2 separate regions of the Homo sapiens genome follow, and region 1 is linked to region 2. The links are contacts of gene promoters, found by promoter capture Hi-C in human tissues and cell types (Jung and others, 2019). All regions are on one chromosome and are shown on one strand. Each heading gives the region's core, a stretch centred on a gene start or on the middle of the fragment in contact. The rest is flanking DNA. Distances are from core to core; before and after follow the strand shown. Region 1 holds the start of RASAL3 (RAS protein activator like 3). Region 2 holds the start of CIB3 (calcium and integrin binding family member 3).

The links. Contacts are between HindIII fragments. The study calls those that stand out against the background at their distance.
Region 1: a contact is called between the fragment with the promoter of RASAL3 here and the fragment with the promoter of CIB3 in region 2, in 3 of the 25 tissues and cell types used here (dorsolateral prefrontal cortex, mesendoderm cells and thymus).

What each region holds. Positions count from the first base shown.
Region 1 is chr19:15,462,709-15,467,129 of GRCh38, reverse strand. RASAL3 (RAS protein activator like 3) reads left to right here and starts at 2,586. Exons shown (of 18, transcript NM_022904.3): 1 at 2,586-2,625; 2 at 2,753-3,099. The coding sequence starts at 2,772. RefSeq lists enhancers at 2,243-2,352, 2,993-3,122, 3,223-3,362. The HindIII fragment of the contact is 13,394 bases long and covers 1-4,421 here.
Region 2 is chr19:16,170,875-16,174,775 of GRCh38, reverse strand. It overlaps CIB3 (calcium and integrin binding family member 3), which reads left to right and starts at 1,251. Exons shown (of 6, transcript NM_054113.4): 1 at 1,251-1,351; 2 at 1,580-1,614. The coding sequence starts at 1,301. The HindIII fragment of the contact is 31,728 bases long and covers 1-3,901 here.

The sequences.
Region 1 (4,421 bases), core at 1,337-3,836, 710 kb after region 2:
GCTCCTGGACCGGATTTATGCTGACTCATTTATTCCTCAGAATGGCATTTACTTACCTCTGGCTTTCAAGTAAACATCTGTGGAAGCCTAACAGAGATACAAGAAAGTGCTCCCAAGGGCACAGCTTGATGAATTTTCACAACAGCACACAGCCATGTAACCAGGACCCAGCTCAAGAAATAGAACATGTTAAGCCAAGCGTGGTGGCACACATCTGCAGTCCCAGCCACTACAGAGGCTGAAGCAGGAGGACTGCCTGAGCCCAGGAGTAGGAGACCAGCCTGGGCAACATAGTGAGACCCTGTCTCTTTACAAAAAAAAAAAAATTAAAATTAGCCAGGCATGGTGGCATGCACCTGCAGTCCCAGCTACTCAGGAGGCTGAGGCAGGAGGATTGCCTGAGCCCAGGAATTCAAGGTTGCAGTGACCCACAATCATGCCTGGGAATAGCCACTGTACTCCTGCCTGGGTGACAGAACAAGGCTTCGTCTCTCTGGGCACAGAGGCTGATGCTATTCCTGTATTCCCAGCACTTTGGGAGGCTGAGGCATGAGGATTGCTTGAGCCCAGGAGTTCAAGACAAGCATGGGCAACATAGTGAGGCCCCATCTCTACAAAAAACAAACAAACAAAAAGTTAAAAATTAGTCAGGTAGCATGCACCTGTAGTCCCAGCTACTCGAGAGCCTGAGGTAGGAGGATCGCTTGAGCCCAGGAGGTTGAGAATGCAGTGAGCTGTGATTGTGCCACTGCACTCCAGCTTGGCCAACAGAGCAAGACCCTGTCTCAAAAAAAAATCTTATTAAAAAAAAAAGAACATGCTAAATTTGTGTTATATGAATTTTACCTCAATTAAAAAAAAAATAGGCCAGGCATGGTAGCATGTGCCTATTATCCCAGCTACTTAGGGGGCTGAGGTGGGAGGATCACTTGAGGCCAGGAGTTCAAGAACAGCCTGGGCAACAAAGCAAGACCCTCATCTCAACAACAACAAAAAAATTGTTTTTAATAAGCCAGGTGTGGTGGCATGCAGCTGTAGTCCCAGCTACTCAGGAGGCTAAGGCGAGAGGATCTCTTGAGCCCAGGAGTTAGAGGTTACAGAGAGCTATGATGGCACCACTGCACTCCAGCCTGGATGACAGACCTCATCTACAAAAAATAATAATATTCATATTATGTATAATGTAATATTATTTATATTACTATGTAATATAAATATTATATTTTTATTTTATGAGATCTATATTATTTTTATAGACCTCATTTATAAATAATAATAATAATAAGGGCCGGGCACGGTGGCTTACGCCTATAATACCAGCACTTTGGGAGGCCAAGGCGGGCAGATCATTTCAGGTCAGGAGTTCAAGACCAGCCTGACCAACATGGTGAAACCCCGTCTCTACTAAAAATACAAAAAAATTAGGCAGGCATGGTGGTGAATACCTGTAGTCCCAGCTACTCAGGAGGCTGAGTAGGGAGAATCACTTGAATCCGGGAGGCAGAGATTGCAGTGAGCCAAGATCGTGCCACTGCACACCAGCCTGGGAGACAGAGCGAAACTCCTTCTCGATAAATAAATCAATTAATAATAATAAGAGTAATAATAAATCTTGCCATCTTCCAGAAGCCCCCCTTGTACCCTCTTCCCAGCCACCAGTGCCTCCAAAAGAAACTGATACCCTGCTTGTTAGACATGGTTTTGCCTGCTTTAGGACTTTATGTAAATGGAATCACAAAGTGTATACTCTTCATTGTTTTGGGGTTTTTAAATTTATTTATTATTGCTTTTTAGAGATGGGGTCTCCCGAGGGCAGGGAGGGGAAAAAGAAAAAAAAAAGTTAGATATGAGGTCTCCCTATGTCACCCAGACTGGAGTGCACTGCCTATTCACAGGCATGATCACAGCTCACTGCAGCCTCGAACTCCTGGCCTCAAGCGATCCTCCTCCCTCAGCCTCCTGAATAGCTCAGATTACTGGCATTTTATGGCTTTGGTTTTGGTTTTGGCTCAACATTGTTTGTGATTCACCCAAGTTAAATCATTCTTTAGTTTGTTCTCACTGCTGTATGATATTCTGCTGTGCGAAGAGATCACAATTTATTCCTTCTCCCACTAATGGGTACTTAGGCTGCTTCCAATGTGGGGCTATTATGCATTGTGCTGGGGGGGCATATCTATTGGACGTCTACCTAGCAATGGAATTGCTGAGTCAGAGAAGATCCAGCTAGTAGTGTTAGTAGATCCTGCCAAACCGTTTCCCAACATGAGTGAATGGGTCTACACTCCGGCCAACTGTGGATTAGAGTTCTAGGTGCTTTGTATTCTCGCCAGCATTTGTTCAGCCTGTACTCATTTTGCAGAGAAGGCAACGGAGGCTCAGAGAGAGGGGCAAGTGCTGCCTCCCCGTCAGGGAGGCAGTCTGGGTCCTTCTTGCTAGAAGCCTGGTAACCCACCTCCTCTCTTCTCCTCCCTCGAACCTCCAGCAACCTGCCCGCACTGTGCCCTCCCAGCCTGGCTGTGGGGTGGGGTGGGACAGAGAGGGTCACGTGGAGTTGGGTTCCGAGGGAGGAAGCCAGGCGGGGTGCAGACGGCTGCTGATTCTGGGGCTGGTCAGGAAACCAAGGTAAGGGAGGGAGTGGAGGTGGGGGCAGGGGGATTCCTGGAGGCAGAGCTGAGGGTGGGGAGGGGGCCGAGATGAGGGCAGTATGTGGACAGACACTGGGCACTACTGTCACTCTCTCGTCCCCCAGGAGACCCCCCCCCCCAACCATGGACCCACCGTCGCCAAGCCGGACCTCCCAAACCCAGCCCACAGCCACCTCTCCGCTGACTTCCTACCGCTGGCACACAGGGGGCGGTGGGGAGAAGGCGGCTGGAGGGTTCCGCTGGGGCCGCTTTGCTGGCTGGGGCAGGGCCCTGAGCCACCAGGAGCCCATGGTCAGCACCCAGCCAGCCCCTCGCTCGATATTCCGTCGGGTCCTATCTGCGCCTCCCAAGGAGTCACGGACCAGTCGCCTTCGACTCTCCAAGGCCCTCTGGGGGAGGCATAAGAACCCACCGCCGGAGCCAGACCCGGAGCCGGAGCAGGAGGCCCCAGGTACATGGTTCCCCCACCCTGAGCTTGGGCCGGGCTGGGAAGCCGGATGCTTGGGTTTTGTCTGCCTCCGGAGCATCAACCATACAGACACAGGAAGTTGTGGGGAGTGCAAAAGCCCAGCAGGAAGCCGCTGGGGCCCAGCTACCCTGTTCCCTCTTTCCCCCTAAAGAGGGTAGGAGGAGTTGCCGGGGTCCTGTGGGCAGAGGGTCCATCTGAGGAAGGAACAGTGAATGTAAACCCGTGATAGTATTGTCCAGAGGCTAAACGGCTCTTGGCCCCAACGGGTCTCTCCTTCAATGGCTCAGGCCCATCCTTTCCTACCTGGATATCCATCTTCAGCCTGCCTCCTACTCTCCTACCTTCTAGCTTCCGTGTCTTTGTTCTGAGCCCTTAAGCCTCAGCCTCTCCATCAGTTCAGTGAGAATAATGATCTCCATTTTGGAGAGTATATAATTTTATTTGCTCATATTCATTCATTTATTCAAGCAGAGGTTTGTTGAGCTTCTATTGTATGTGCCAGGCCCTGATTTAGGCACTGAGGACACACTAGTGAAAGAGACAGATGACCCTCCCTGCCCCATGGAGCTCACAGTGTAGTGGAATTGACAGGAAATCCATCAACAAGAAAATGACAGATGGGCCAGGCATGATGGCTCACACCTGTAATCCCAGCACTTTGGGAGGCCAAGGTGGGTGGATCACCTGAGCTCAGGAGTTCGAGACCAGCCTGGCCAACATGGCAAAACCCTGTTTCTACTAAAAATACAAAAAAAAAAAAGTATCTAGGCATGGTGGCACATACCTGTACTCCCAGCTACTCAGGAGGCTGAGGCAGGATAATCGCTTGAACCCGGGAGGTGGAGGTTGCAGTGAGCTGAGATTGCACTACTGCACTCCCGCCTGGGCGACAGAGGGAGACTCCATCTCAATGGAAGAAAAAAAAAAAAAAGAAAGAAAAAAAATGACAGATGGTGCTAAGTGTCACACAGGGGGATCTAGAAGAGTAATGGATATCACAAGAATTAGGGCTCAGGAATGTAACACTAGCCTAGGGCCCAGCATTTTTTTTATTTTTTTTTTGAGATGGAGTCTCGCTCTGTTGCCCAGGCTGGAGTGCAGTGGCGCGATCTCGGCTCACCGCAAGCTCCGCCTCCTGGGTTCACGCCATTCTCCTGCCTCAGCCTCCTGAGCAGCTGGGACTACAGGAACCCGCCACCATGCCCAGCTAATTGTTGTATTTCTAGTAGAGACAGGGTTTCACTGTGTTAACCAGAATGGTCTCGATCTCCTGACCTCATGATCCGCCCGCCTCAGCCTCCCAA
Region 2 (3,901 bases), core at 2-2,501:
TCAAAAAAAAAAAATACAAAAAAAATTAGCTTGGCATGGTGGACACCTGTGGTCCCAGCTACCTGGGATGCTGAGGCAGGAGAATCACTTGAACCTGGGAGGCAGAGATTGCAGTGAACCGAGATCACACCACTGCACTCCAGCCTGGGCAACAGAGTGAGACTGTCTCAAAAAAATAAAATGTAATAAAATAATAATGTCAATGCACACCCCAGAACTTCATCTAGCTTGTTCACCATTATGTTCCCAATGCAGTGATGCAATCATGGCTCACTGCAGCCTCAAACTCCTGGGCTCAAGCAATCCTCCCACCTCAGCCTCCTGAGTAGCTGGGACCACAGGCATGCACCACCACATCCAGCTAATTTTTGTATTTTTAGTAGAGATAGGGCCTTGCCATGCTGCCCAAGCTGATCTTGAACTCCTGGCCTCAAGTGAATCTCATGCTTTGTCCTCCTAAAGTGCTGGGATTACAGGTATGAGCCACCTCGCCCAGCCAAAACCTTTTTTTTTTTTTTGGAGATGGAGTCTTACTCTGTCACCCAGTCTGGAGTGCAATGGCGGGATCTCGGCTCACTGCAACCTCCACCTCCTGGGTTCAAGCAATTCTCCTGCCTCAGTCTCTGGAGTAGCTGGGATTACAGGCATGTGTCACAATGCCAAGCTAATTTTTGTATTTTTAGTAGAGATGGGGTTTTGCCGTGTTGGCCAGGCTGGTCTTGAACTCCTGACCTCAGGTGATCCGCCTGCCTGGCCCTCCCAAAGTGCTGGGATTACAGGTGTGAGCCACCTTGCCCAGTCAAAACCTTTTTTTTTTTTTTTTAAATCTCAGATCCTGAGAATGACCCTATGAGGTAGGTATAATGTAATTTTCATCTCATGAATGAGGTTCAGAGAAGTCAGGTGACTTGCCCAGGGCCACACAGCTAGTGGGCAGAGAGCTGGGATTTGAGCTGCAGTGTGCCCATAGCCCTTCTGTATACCCTGCCTGTCTCTTGAGTGTGCCCCATAACCCCAGCCTCACCTTGTGGTGGCAGATGTGGCCTCCCCACTGAGGTCTTCTCTGTGACATCCCACAGCCCTTATCCTTACCCATGGACACATTCAGGCTGTTGTCCAGAGAGCCTGGCTGTAATTTGAGTCTCATCAAGCAGGGGGTGATGGCGTAGGTGGGTGGGTGACAGCCAGGGCAGGGAGATTTGCCCAGACACTGGTACACAACAGCCTGGCAACCCGTGTGGCCCCGAGGAAGCTGGGAGCCTTTGGGGTGCATCCCCAAGTCTGGGCTGTGGTTCACACCATGGGCAACAAGCAGACAGTCTTCACACACGAGCAGCTGGAAGCGTATCAGGTAGAGGGGGGCAGGATGGGTCCTCAGTGGGTTTGACAACTTTGGTTCCGTGGTCTGGGAAATGGGAACAGAATGCCTTCATCTGGGTGTACCGTCCGCCTGGGTTCCTGGTTCTGCTCTGTGTGTGGCAGCATCAGGCCATCTGTGTGAGTGTGGGGTGGAGGGAGGAGGCCGTGGGAGGAGGCCCCAGAGGCAGGGTTCGGGTTAAGACAACACCTCTCTCCACAGGACTGCACATTTTTCACAAGGAAGGAGATCATGAGGTCAGTCCAGGGAGGAAGGGAGAGAAGATCTGGAAAAACAACTTTCTATTCATTGCTGGAGGATATTTGCAATTTGGTGTGTGTGTGTGTGTGTGTGTGTGTGTGTGTGTGTGTGTGTGTAAGTAGTCTTTCTTTCTTTCTTTCTCTTTTCTCTCTCTCTCTCCCTCCCTCCCTCCCTTCCTTCCTTCCTTCCTTCTTTTCTTTTTTTTTGAGACAGGGTCTGTCTCTATTGCCTGGGCTGGAGTGCAGTGGTGCAATCATGGCTCATTGCAGGCTCGATCTCCCAAGGTCAGGTGATCCTCCCACCTCAGCCTCTCGAGTAGCTAGGACCACTGGTGCGAGCCACCACATGTACCTCATTTTTGTATTTTTTTATAGAGATGGGGCTCTCACTATGTTGCCCAGGCTGGTCTTAAACCCTTGGGCTCAAGCGATCCCCCTGCCTCAGCCTCCCAAAGTGCTGGGATTACAGGTGTGAGCCACCATGCCCAACTGGTATTTCCAATTTGTTGGGACTCAAATGGGGAAGGGGGGCAGGTGTGGTCAGTGGACAGAGGCAGAGATGGAGAAGCTGACAAGTCACATCTTGTCATACTGTCCCAGTCTCTAGGCTGATGAGCTTGGGCTTTCTCCCAAGGGTGGCAGGGAGCTATGGAGCATGCATGAGCAGGGGAGAGACCATCAGCACGTTAGAAAGATTCTCCTGAGGCTGGGCGCGGTGGCTCATGCCTGTAATCCCAGCACTTTGGGAGGACAAGGTGGGTGGATCACCTGAGGTCAGGAGTTTAAGATCAGCCTGGCCAACATGGTGAAACCCCATCTCTGCTAATAATACAAAAATCAGCTGGGCGAGGTGGTGGGTGCCTGTAATCCCAGCTACTCAAGAGGCTGAGGCAGGAGAATTGCTTGAACCTGGGAGGTGGAGGTTGCAGTGAGCCGAGATCACGCCACTGTGCTCCAGCCTGGGTGACAGAGCTAGACTCTGCCTCAGAAAAACAAAATGAAAGATAAAGATTCTCCTGAGACTGGGACTTGAGGCTGGGAGCCCAGGTGCAAAGTCCAGAGCCCAGTCTGGGTTGTGGGCTTGGCATTAAGATGAGGGTGTGAGGAGGTGGCCCAAGGCTGCTGCAGGTCCCTGGCGTGACCCAGCACGATGGGCACAGATGAGTATCCCACATCATCACTCGGCCTGTGGGGCCATTGCCCAGGGGCCCCGACCCATGAACTTGGAGCTATGAAACCCAAGCTGGCCAGGGTTCAGCTGCAGTGTGATCGGGGCCAAGGCCCCAGTTGTGTAGTAACAGGACATCCATTATTGATGGCCACACCTTTTACTAGTGAGCCCCATTGTTTGGGTGAGGACAGCTTGCAGGGTCACCTCGGCCATCACGATCAAATTACTGATGGGGAAACTGAGGCTCAGACAGGGCGGGGCTGATCCCAGGCTGAAGGGTAAATGCACAGAGCCCCAAGGCCCCAAGGACAGACATTTTGTCTGTCCCAAGCTTCTTGCTTATCAGATAGAATAACCAAGGCACAGAGAGGGAGAGGAGAGGAACATGCTCAGAGCCACACAGAAACCTAAACCCAGGGTATTCCCTGATGGGACCCCGACAGGGAACTGAGTGGTCAGGATGAAAGTTCTAGGTCTCCCCACCCCACCTTCATTGAGTTCCTAGTCATCATATGACCTAGGGACTCATGTCTCTCTCAGAGACAGTCCCTAGCAGCTTGGGGACCTCAGACCCACCAAGGATGGTCTCTGCAAGGCTGCTGCTCAGCATGCCCTAATGAAGGTATGGTGTCACAGGTGAGGGCTTCTGAGTGGAGAACTGGCCTTATAATCTGGATAGTGTGTGTGGTATTCAGTTATTTGCAAAATATCTTTTGTCTGCCCTTTAGAAAAAATGTGACTATTAGCTGTTTGTCTCTGCTCTGCCCCATTGAGGAATCCCTCCTTTTTTTTCTTTCTTTCTTCTTTTCTTTCTTTCTTTTTTATTTTTTATTTATTTATTTTTTTTATTGAGACCGAGTCTCATTCTGTTGCCCAGGCTGGAGTGCACTGGCTTGATCTCGGTTCACTGCATGCTGCGCCTCCCGGGTTCACACCATTGTCCTGCCTCAGCCTCCGGAGTAGCTGGGACTACAGGCGCCCACCACCACGCCTGGCTAAATTTTTATATTTTTAGTGGAGACGGGGTTTCACCATGTTAGCCAGGATGGTCTTGATCTCCTGTCCTCGTGATCCACCTGCCTCGGCCTCTCAAAGTGCTGGAATTACAGGCGT